Regions from separate parts of the Homo sapiens genome. Here region 1 is linked to region 2. Evidence: promoter capture Hi-C in human tissues and cell types (Jung and others, 2019). All regions are on one chromosome and are shown on one strand. The core of a region is centred on a gene start or on the middle of the fragment in contact, and the rest is flanking DNA. Distances in the headings are between cores, read along the strand shown.

What was found. Contacts are between HindIII fragments. The study calls those that stand out against the background at their distance.
Region 1: a contact is called between a fragment that was not itself captured here and the fragment with the promoter of FAM186A in region 2, in 2 of the 25 tissues and cell types used here (IMR-90 fibroblasts and aorta).

The regions. Positions count from the first base shown.
Region 1 is chr12:50,146,783-50,152,560 of GRCh38, forward strand. All of the region lies in intron 1 of CERS5 (ceramide synthase 5), which reads right to left. The region is part of intron 1 of LOC124902931 (a long non-coding RNA gene); the gene reads left to right. Among named protein-coding and RNA genes, the nearest start is that of CERS5, 18 kb to the right of the region's middle. The HindIII fragment of the contact is 4,983 bases long and covers 1-3,815 here.
Region 2 is chr12:50,393,674-50,399,853 of GRCh38, forward strand. FAM186A (family with sequence similarity 186 member A) reads right to left here and starts at 2,936. Exons shown (of 8, transcript NM_001145475.3): 1 at 2,620-2,936. The coding sequence starts at 2,811. The HindIII fragment of the contact is 8,551 bases long and covers 1-5,862 here.

The DNA of each region.
Region 1 (5,778 bases), core at 74-2,573, 250 kb before region 2:
CTTGCAGTGAGCCGAGATCGCGCCACTGCACTCCAGCCTGGGCGACAAAGTGAGACTCCGTCTCAAAAAAAAAAAAAAAAAAAGAACATTTGACAAATACTTGTTGATTGTTTATTTTGTGCTACAGAATGAAGCTTTATTATATTTTCCAGATGTGATTGGAAAATAATCTTTTCTAATTTGTGATAAAAATTAAATATATAGATTTAGTTATACACAGTTAATGAATTACCTTACTGAAGAAAGTGAAATTATTTGAAATTATAGCTTTTGAGAAAGTATTAATTCTACATCATACAAAAGGTTGGTATTTGGTATAACTTATAAAACAGGTATCTAGGCCAGGCGCGGTGGCTCATGCCTGTAATCCCAGCACTTTGGGAGGCTGAGGCGGGCGGATCACGAGGTCAGGAGTTCGAGACCAGCCTATCCAACATGGTGAAACCCCATCTCTACTAAAAATACAAAAAGTTAGACAGGCGTGGTGGTGTGTGCCTGTAACCCCAGCTACTCAGGAGGCTGAAGCAGGAGAATTGCTTTTACCCAGGAGGCGGAAATTACAATGAGCTGAGATCACGCCATTGCACTCTCTCTGGCCTGGGTAACAGAGCGAGACTCCATCTCCAAAAAAAAAAAAAAAAAAAATAGGTACCTAGGGTGGTCAATTTCCAGAGCCTGGCATTCATCATTTCTGCTACATCAGCATTTCTCAAAGTGTGGTTTAGAGACCCCTGGGGGATCCAGAGACCCTTTCAGTAGGTCTACAAGGTCAAAACTATCTTCAGAATAATTCTATAATTTCATAAAAATCTATTCTCTCTCATGAGAGTACAGTGGAACTTTCCATAAGTTACATGACATATAACAACAGACTGAATGCAGACGCTGACATGAGACTACAGCTGCCAGATATTTTCAAAAATGTTAAAATGCTACTCTTCTCACAGTTTTTTGTTTTGGAAAATAGTTATTTTTCATAAAACGTAATGAGTTCATTGTTATTTATTTATATTGAGACAGGGTCTCACTCTGCCACCCAGGCTGGAGTGCAGTGGTGTGATCACTGCTCACTGCAGCCTTGACTTCCTAAGCTCAAGTGATCCTCCCACCTCAGCCTCTCAAGTAGCTGGGACTACAGGTGTTGGCCATGCCCAGCTAATTAAAAAATTTTTTTTTTTGTAGAGACAGGGTTTCACCATGTTTCCCAGGCCATTGCTATTTTTAAATGAATAAATATGGGCTGGGCACGGTGGCTAATGCCTGTTATCCTAGCACTTTGGGAGACTGAGACAGGTGGATCACTTGAGCCCAGGAGTTTGAGACCAGCCTGGGAAACGTGGTGAAACCCTGTCTCTCCCCAAAACACAAAAGTTAGACAGGTGTGGTAGCTCATGCCTGTGGTCCCAGCAACTTGGGAGGTTGAGGTGGGAGGATCACTTGAGCCTGGGAGGTCGAGGCTGCAGTGGGCTGTGATTGCGCCACTGCACTTCAGCCTGTGTGATAGAGCCAGATCCTGTCTCAAAAATAAATAGGCTGTATGCGGTGGCTCATGCCTGTAATCCCAGCACTTCGGGAGTCTGAGGTGGGCAGACTGCTTGAGCTCAGGAGTTCAAGACCAGGCTGGCCAACATGGTGAAACCCCATCTCTACCAAAAAATACAAAAATTAGCCAGGCATGGCGGCACATACCTGTAGTCCCAGCTGCTCAGGAGGCTGAGGTGAGAGGATCTCTTGAACTCGGGAGACAGAGGTTGCAGTGAGCTGAGATCTCACCACTGCACTCCAGTCTGGGCGACAAAGCAGACTCTGTCTCAATAATAAATAAATAAATAGGCCGGGCGTGGTGACTCAGACTTGTAATACCGGCACTTTGGGAGGTTGAGGCAGGCTGATCACTTGAGGTCAGGAGTTTGAAACCAGCCTGGCCAACATGGCGAAATGCCATCTTCTACTAAAAATACAACAACAAAAAATTAGCCGGGCATGGTCGTGCACACCTGTATTCCCAACTACTCAGGTGGCTAAGGCAGGAGAATTGCTTGAACCCGGGAAGCGAAGGTTGCAGTGAGCCAAGATTGCGCTACTGCACTCCAGTTGGGGTGACGGAGCGAGACTCCATCTCAAAAAAAAAAAAAAAAAAAAAAAATATATATATATATATATATGTGTGTGTGTGTGTGTGTGTGTGCGTGTAGACATTTTATACATGTATAAATACATGTAGAAAACATGTACATTTTCCCCATTTTTTTTCTAAAACAGTAGACATTGATAGGTACTATCCACATAAACAAAAACTCTTTGGGATCCTTGAAAATTTTTTAAGATTGTAAAGGAGTCCTGAGATCATAGTTTGAAAACTGCTGTGCTAGATGATACTGACAAATTATACTTTTAGTGTGGCTTTCTGTCTTCTCCAGGATCAATCCACATTTTAAAATAATTTGTCAGACAAGATTTTTCCTTTCCTGGCAGATTTTAGTAAGTAGGCATTTAGTGGTCTATAAAAAGAAGCTACTACTTTCCACCTGTAACTCCAGGAACACGAGTCTAGTGACCCATCCTGACAGTATTAGATTTGTCCTGCTTTGTAGAGATCATTTCACTCTGCCCTTTTCCTGCTCTCCAGATACATAGCAGCAGTTGACCTAAGCCTGGGTTAATTAGGATGAAATTACCTAGTGCTTTCGCTTTTTCCTATCAAAGACAGGATGTATATTCACAATGCTACTTTTGTGATTCATTACACCACTGATGAATATGAATTATACACAAATAAAACCAAAGTCTAGATTAAGCTTCTCAACTATTGTGGCAAGTAACACAAATGGGCTATACTTATGCTGAGATATTGATTTTAGCTCTCAGGGTGATCCATGGGGCCTTCGGGTAGCCAGAAACCTTTAGTCTGTAGTCTCTGGCCTCATATACCTTACTGTATAATGCAAATGTTATTTATGTATTTATTTAGAGACAGAGTCTCGCTCTGATGCCTAGGCTGAAGTGAAGTGTGGTGGCGTGATCTGGGCTCACTGCAACCTCCGCCTCCCAGGTTCAAGTAATTCTTGTGCCTCAGCCTCCCAAGTAGTAGCTGGGACTACAGGCGTGCACCACCATGCCCAGCTAATTTTTGTATTTTTAGTAGAGACGGGGTTTCACCACATTGGCCAGGCTGGTCTTGAGCTCCTGACCTCAAGTGATCTGCCTGCCTCGCCTCCCAAAGTGCTGGGATTACAGGCGTGAGCCAGCATACTCAGCCACAAATGTTATTTTTTATGTGTGCAGCAATATTTCCAGATTGAGAAGTACCAGCTTAGATCAATTTCTGGAAAAATATAAAGTGCCAAAGTAGACATATAAAAAGAACAGGAGTTTAAGACCAGTCTGGGCAACATGGTGAGACCCCGTCTCTACAAAAAATTTTAAAAATTAGCTGGATGTGGTGGCATGTGCCCATGGTCCCAGCTACTGCGGAGGCTGAGGCAGGAGGACTGCTTGAGCCCAGGAGGTGGAGGCTGCAGTGAGCCCTGATTGTGCCACTACACTCCAGCCTGGGTGACAGAGTGAGACGCCATCTCCAAAACATAAAATAATGAAATAAAAAAAAGTTTGGGAGTGAAAGATGAGTTGAGTTTTGTGTATGCTGAATCTGAAGTACCCATGGGACACTGAAATGGAACTGTCTAGCATGCAAATACACTTGGAAAAGGGGCTTGGGTATGATATATATATAGAGAGAAAGAACAGAATATACGAATACAAATGAATGAGAATGTAAGTGATAGCTAAATTTGTGGGGGTGGCTGTGATTACATATGAAAGGAATATAAACTTAAAAGAGAACTGAGGTCAGAACGCTGGACAACATCAGCATAAAAGGTGAATTTAGGGGACAGGAAGGTCAGAGGTGGAGTTGTATCAAATAAGGGAAAGACCAAGACAAGGACTTCAGTATCTACTACATTTGGCAATTTTTGGAGATCTGTAGTAACCTTCACCAAAGAAATTCCAGTAAAATAAAGACTCTAAAACACAGCAGTGAGTTAAAGCAGTTAAAGATATAGGAGGAAAGAAGTAGAAATAGCCAAACCCTCAAGCATTTAGGCTAAGAAGAAAATGGAATGTCCTCAACTTTGGCATCAGAATCACTCAATCTAAACTAATCACATCTAAAACCAATCTCCCTGTGCTTTAGACCCACTCTTTACTGATCAGAAATTTCATTCTACTTATCCCTCCTTCCTTCTATTATCTTCAGCCTCACTCTCAACTTTGTTCTTCTCATCAGATCTTAAACATGCTCAAGTTTTTCACATCTTAAAACAGCCCTCCCGGTCCCTAGCACCCTCTGGCCTTCCCCAAACTCACAACTAAACTCCCACACATTCCTCAACTCTCCTTTCTCTCCCCTCTGGCTTCTGTCCCTACACTCCACTGAAGCTGTTCTTGCCAAAGTTGTCAATGATCTCCATATTGTGAAAACAAATGGATGCTTTTCAGTCCTTTATCTTACTTGACCTTTCAGCAGCATTTTATTAGGTTGGTGCAAAAGTAATTCCCATTACTTTTAATGGCAAAAACCACAATTACTTTTGCACCAACCAAATACATTAATGACTAATCTCCTTCTTGAAATGCCCTTTTCTCTTCCTTACTGCCACTCTTCCTAGTCTTCTCCCTCTACCTCTTTGGCAGTGGAACTAGACTGCCTGGTAAGCACTGCTAGTTGAGTCACCTTGGACAAGTTCCTCTGTGCTTCAGTTCTCTCATCTGTAAAATGAGGATAACAGTAATGCCTACCTACCTCATAAACTTACTAAAGAGGATTCAAGCTTAGCACTTAGAACAATGCCTAGGACAAAGTAAACACTTATTAAACACCCACTTTGAGATGGAGTCTCCCTCTGTCACCTGGGCTGGAGTGCAATGGCACAATCTTGGCTCACTGCAACCTCCACCTCCCAGGTTCGATTCTGCCTCAGCCTCCCGAGTAGCTGGGATTACAAGTGCCCACCACCACACCTGGCTAACTTTTGTATTTTTAGTAGACACGGGTTTCACCATGCTGGCCAGGCTGGTCCCGAACTCCTGGCCTCTAGTGGATTCACCCACCTCGGCCTCCCAAAGTGTTGGGATTACAGGCGTGAGTCGCCGTGCGCGGCCTATACCAACTACTAATATTATCAAATAACGTATGGCTGTCATTCCTCTATCTCCTTTGCAGTTTATTTTTCCTCTGCCTTTTCCTGAAACATGGTGTTTCCTCAGGGTTCACTTAGAGGTTCTTTTCGTACTCTACACGCTCACCCTCAGTAACCTCATTCAGTTATGGTAGAGGGTCTCAAGGTATGGACTGCAGATCCCTGAGGGTTCCTGAGGCACTCTCAGGGGCTCTACAAACTAAACTATTTTCATAACAATATTATTATTTGCCTTTTTCACTGTGTTGACATTTGCAGTGATTGTGCAAATCAATGGTAGGTAAAACATTATGGTACTTTAGACCAAATCAAGGTAGTGACACCAAACCATACTAGTAGTTACTATACTGTAGAGCTAGGTCTTCTCAATTTTTAAAACATGCCAGTTTTGCTTAAGAATGTCCTTGATGAAGCACTACAAATTATTACTTTTATTAAATCTTGACCCTTGAATATATTTTTTAAAAGTATTCTGTGATTGGGCACAGTGGCTTATGCCTGTAATCCCAGCACTTTAGGAGGCTGAGGCAAGCGGATCACTTGAGGTCAGGAGTTCGAGACCACCCTGGCCAACATG
Region 2 (6,180 bases), core at 1,686-4,185:
CCATTTATACAAAAAATACAAAAATTAGCCAGACGTGCTGGTGTGTGTGCCTGTAGTCTCAGCTACTTGGGAGGCTGAGGTGGGAGGATGGCTTGAGCCCCGGAGGCAGAGGTTGCATACATTTTATGGTATGCTAACTGTACCTCAATAAAGCTGTTAAAAGCAAACACTGTGTTATTGTTGCTAGTTGCCAGAAGTTGGAACAGGAGAAAGTCTGTGTGAGGAGTGGGAATTTATCGATATTTAGCACTCTTTTTTTCTGTGAGGCAGAGTCTTGCTCTGTCACCCAGGCTGGAGTGCATTGGCACCATCTCGGCTCACTGCAACCTCTGCCTTTCGGGCTCAAGTGATTCTCTTGCCTCAGCCTCCTGAGTAGCTGGGACTCCAGGCAGGAGCCACCACACCCGGCTAATTTTTTGTATTTTTAGTAGAGACCGGGTTTCACCATATTGGCCAGTTGGTCTTGAAATCCTGAGCTCAAGTGATCCACCTGCCTCTGCCTCCCAAGATGCTAGGATTACAGGCATGAGCTACTTACCACACCTGGCCAAGCACTCTGTTTTTTTGTTTTTGTTTTTGTTTTTTAAAAGAATATATAAAATGGGCTGGACGCAGTGGCTCACGCCTGTAATCTCAGCACTTTGGAGTGGGGGTGGGTCACAAGGTCAGGAGATCAAGACCATACTGGCTAACATGGTGAAACCCTGTCCCTACTAAAAATACAAAAACAATTAGCCAGGCTTGGTGGCCGGTGCCTGTAGTCCCAGCTACTTGGGAAGCTGAGGCAGGAGAATCACTTGAACCCAGGAGATGGAGGTTGCAGTGAGCCAAGATCGCGCCACTGCACTCAGCCTGAACAATAGCATGATAGTCTGCCTCAAAAAAAAAAATCTATTTATCTATCTATCTATCTACCTATCTACCTATAGAGAGAGAGAGACAGAGGTCTTACTATGTTGCCCAGACTGGTCTTGAACTCCAGGACTCAAGCGATCCTCCTGTCTTGGCCTCCAAAGTGCTGGGATTACAGGAGTGAGCCACTGTGCCTGGCTAACACTCTTTTTTTTTTTTTTTTTTTTTTTTTTTTAGAGATAGAGTCCCTCTGTCACCAGACTGGAATGTAGTGGCACAATCTATAGCTCACTGTAACCTCAAATTCCTGGTCTCAAGGGACCTTCCCGAGTAGCTGGGACTGCAAGTGCATACCACCACTTCCTGGCTAATTTTTAAATTTTTTCTAGAGACAGGGTCTTGCTTTGTTGCCTGGGATGGTCTCAAACTCCTGGGCTCAAGTGAGCCTCTCACCTTGACCTCCTAAAGTGCTGGGATTACAGGCATGAGCCACTGTGACCAGTTTAGCTTTCCTTAAACATAGGAAAGAACCCCCCCTTAATCAATTTCATCAAACATGACTGATTTTTGTTTGTTTGTTTGTTTTTGAGACAGGGTCTCGCTATGTCACCCATGCTGAGTGGGGTGCAGTAGTGCAAGCATGGTGCTCACTGCAGTCTCCTGGGTTCAGGGGATCCTCTGGCCTCCCAAGGAGCTGGGACTACAGGTTTGAGCTAACATGCCTGGCTAATTTTTTTATTTTTAGTAGACAGGAGGTCTCCTTATGTTGGCCAAGCTGGTCTAGAACTCCTGGGCTCAAGAGATCCTCCTGCCTTGGCCTCCCAAAGCATTGGGATTACAGGCATGAATCGCTGTGCCTGGCCTGATTTTGTTGTACTGCGAGAGAATAAAATGCAGTATAACCTTAATTGTTTGGGGGTCTATTAGATTCTTATGTATTTATTTATTTATTTATTTTTCTAAAAATATAGATGGGGTCTCACTATGTTGACCAGGCTGGTCTCTAACTCCTGGCCTCAAGGGATCCTCCCATCTCAGCTTCCCAAAGTGTTGGGATTACAGGCATAAGCCACCGCACCCGGCTGACATTATGTAAACACTCTTTCTATTCTCCTTGAATTTCTCCTAATTTCTCCTTGAAGTGTACAGGGAAAATAAAAGGAGCTAGAATTCAAAGCCATCTAAATTCTATCTGGCTAATAGCTGTTTGATAAAACCTCCATAGGGAACAAATGAAAACTTTTTTTTTTTTTGAGATAGAGTTTCGCTTTTGTTGCCCAGGCTGGAGTGCAATGGTGCAATCTTGGCTCACCACAACCTCCACCTCCCTGGTTCAAGCAATTCTCCTACCTCAGCCTCCTGAGTAGCTGGGATTACAGGCAAGTGCAATCATGCCCAGCTAACTTTTTGTATTTTTAGTAGAAACGGTGGTTTCTCCATGTTGGTCAGGCTGGTCTTGAACTCCCGACCTCAGTGATCCGCCCGCCTCGGCCTCCCAAAGTGCTGGGATTACAGGCGTGAGCCACCATGCCCGGCTTGATTTATTTCTTAAATGGCTTTATTAAACCTGATATAAAGAGATTAATGTCAAATTGGAGCTTGTTATATCCACAGTCGGTGTCAGGTGAAATTGTCATTTGAAGTCAAAGCTACCCTAAATACAGTCAAATATCATGAAAGTGATTTCTAAAATAAACAAAAATGTACTTGGTCACAGAAAGTTTAAAAAGAAAATTGCAGTCTGTAAACTTCAGATTCACTACCTACCTCTCTGGCTCGATGGAGCTGTGCGCGCTCAATCCTAGAGATGATATCCTTTACTGAGAATGGGATCTCAAGGTTAGGGAGCATCAAAGGACTAAGGATATTTTGGGGCTCTCTTCTCATGATGGTGGAATCCTTGATGCATTTTTCTGATTCAGGGTCATTGTCTATCTCATTTTTCATTTTGAAGAACATTTTGAAAATGTGGGTGATTTCGTTTTATTTCTTCTTTTTCACAGAATCTACAAAAATGCTAATAAAGATATCCAGTAGGAAGCTAGGAGAGGTCTTTCCTGATCCTAGAAGTTGTGGCATACTCTGCTACTAATTGGTGGCTCCCATGATATTCCCGTCCTGTTGATGTCACAATAGACCCATTGTGACATTATCATTGATCAAACATGTAAAGAATGCTTACTATGTGCAGAGAACTGGTCATTCTATATGCTGCCATGGTAGAAGGGTGAGGGGGGAAGGAGGGTAGGAAATAATAGACAACAGGAATGCTAAAATAAACAGAAGATATAGCCCTGCTTAAATAAGCTTAAAATCTAGATGTGTTGGCCGGGTGCAGTGGCTCATGCCTGTAATCCCAGCACTTTGGGAGGCCGAGGCAGGTGGATCACCAGAGGTCGGAGTTCGAGACCAGCCTGACCAACATGGAGAAACCCCGTCTCTACTAAAAAAAAAAAAATACAAAATTAGCCATGTGAGGTGGCACATGCGTGTAGTCCCAGCTACTTGGGAGGCTGAGGCAGGAGAATCACTTGAACCCGGGAGGCGGAGGTTGTGGTGAGCCGAGATCACGTCATTGCACTCCAGCCTGGGCAACAAGAGTGAAACTGTCTCAAAAAAAAAAAAAAAAAAATCTAGGTGTGTCAAATATAACTCCTGGTTCTTCTCTCTTCCTGGGGTTTTGCTTAAGTATTTTTAAGCCTGTAATGGAATAAAGGTTACAACTACTTCCTCAGCTGCCCCTTAACTTTTCCTAGACATGTAGTAACTTGGATGATATCATTTGGATGAAGTAACTTGGATGATATCATTTGGATGAGGATCACACTCTTTGCACTGCTTACTCTTTTTTCTTTTCTTTTCTTTTCTTTCCCTTTTTTTTGGAGACAGAGTCTCACTTTGTTACCCAGGCTGGAGTGCAGTGGTGTGATCTTGGTTCATGGCAACCTCTGCCTCCCAGGTTCAAGAGATTCTTGTGCCTCAGCCTCCCTGAGTAGCTGGAATTACAGGTGCGCGCCACCACGCCTGGCTAATTTTTGTTTAATATTTGCTTCCAATTTTTTTAATAATAAAAAAGCATTACAGAAGGTTGAAGTCCTCTTTGATGTCCCCCACCCCTGGTTCCTTCCTTCCCCACTGTCCCATTCCAGAGGAAATGACAATCATGAATTTTACATATTTGTGTTATCTATTTTTACATAGTTTTACTACAGGTGTATGTATTGTTTTTTCTTTCTTTCTTTCTTTCTCCTTCCTTCCTTCCTTCCTTCCTTCCTTCCTTCCTTCCTTCCTTCCTTCCTTTCTTTCTTTCTTTTTTTTTTTTTGAGGCAGAGTCTCACTCTGTTGTCCAGGCTGGAGTGTAGTAGTGCCATCTCAGCAGACTGTAACCTCTGCCTCCCAGGTTCAAACGATTCTTCTACCTCAGCCTCCCGAGTAGCTGGGATTACAGGCATGCGCCACCACACCTGGCTAATTTTTTTTTTTTTTTTTTTTGAGACGGAATCTCGCCTGTGGCCCAGGCTGGAGTGCAGTGGCATGATCTCGGCTCACTGCAAGCTCCGCCTCCCAGGTTTGCTCCATTCTCCTGCCTCAGCCTCCCGAGTAGCTGGGACTACAGGCGCCCGCCACCACACCCGGCTAGTTTTTTGTATTTTTTAGTAGAGACGGGGTTTCACCATGTTAGCCAGGATGGTCTCGATCTCCTGACCTCGTGATCTGCATGCCTTGGCCTCCCAAAGTGCTGAGATTACAGGTGTGAGCCACTGCACTCGGCCTACACCTGGCTAATTTTTTATATTTTTGGTAGATATAGGGTTTCACTGTGTTGGCCAGGCTGGTCTCAAACTCCTCAAGTGATTCACTCACCTCGGCCTCCCAAAGTTTAGTTGTCAACTAAACTAAATTTGCATTATTCTTTCTCTCTCACTTGCATCTTTTATGCAGCATGGAATTCATCAATCAGCAACTAGACATGAAGGCTTTTCTTTGAGACAAAATCTCACTCTGTCACCCAGGCTGGAGTGCAGAGGCACGATCTAGGCTCACTGCAAGCTCCGCCTCCCAGGTTCACGCCATTCTCCTGCCTCAGCCTCCCAAGTAGCTGGGACTACAGGCGCCCACCACCACGCCCGGCTAATTTTTTGTATTTTTAGTAGAGAAAGAGTTTCACCGTGTTTGCCAGGACAGTCTCGATCTCCTGACCTCGTGGCCTCCCAAAGTGCTGGGATTACAGCCATGAGCCACCACGCCTGGCCATGAAGGCTTCTTAAAGTCAATTTTTAAATCCTGCTTCCCTTTCAATTCGACAAGCATTTGTTGAAACACTATGCAGCTTACATTATCCTAAACTGAAGAATATATGATAGGGTTCCTGTGAAGAAACTAAAACAAAAAAGAAAAGATTTAAGATAGAATATAATAATCAAGTGCTAATAAGGGACACGAAGAAGAGATCTGTAGAAGCAGAATCTTTGAGAAAACCTTATGGAGAGAGAAGGTTGATTGACAAATGGAGGCAATCCAGGTAGGGGCAACACCTTGAGCCATGGCTTTGGCGGTGAGTGCTAATGAGTTTGCATCTTAGGGGGAAAGTAAGGAGATTGGTTTAATCACTGAGATGACTTCACGGGAATTTACTGAGGACCACATTAGGGTGGGCCTGAGATAACAGATATCAGCAATTTGGTGGTGGAATTAATTTGGTATCTGAGGAGATTCCATTTGCGGCAAAGCAAGGAGGATTTCATGAGATCAGAATGGCAAAGTCTTGAAATCAAGTAACAGTGGTTTGGTGAAAATGAAACCTTCACTTTGGGAAGATTTTTTAAATAATAGAATGGAAAAATCCATTGGAAAAGATCAAGACATGATTATTTCATTTTTATTTATTATTATTATTTTTTAGAGACAGAGTCACACTCTGTCACCCAGGCTTGAGTGCAGTGGCGTGATCTTGGCTCACTGCAACCTCTGCCTCCCAGGTTCTAGCAATTCTCCTGCCTCAGCCTCCCACGTAGCTGGGACTACAGGCACACACTGCCATGCCTGGCTAATTTTTTGTATTTTACTAGAGATGGCATTTCACCATGTTGCCCAGGCTGGTCTTGAACTCCTGAGCTAAGGCAATCCACCCGCCTCGGCCTCCCAAAGTGCTAGAATTACAGGCGTGAGCCACGGTGTCCGGCCAATTTTTATTCGTTACTATTATTATTACTATATTTGAGACAGAGTCTCACTCTGTCACCCAGGCTGGAGTGCAGTGGCGCGATGTTGGCTCACTATTAACTCCACCTCCTGGGTTTAAGCGATTCGCCTGCCTCAGCCTCCCGA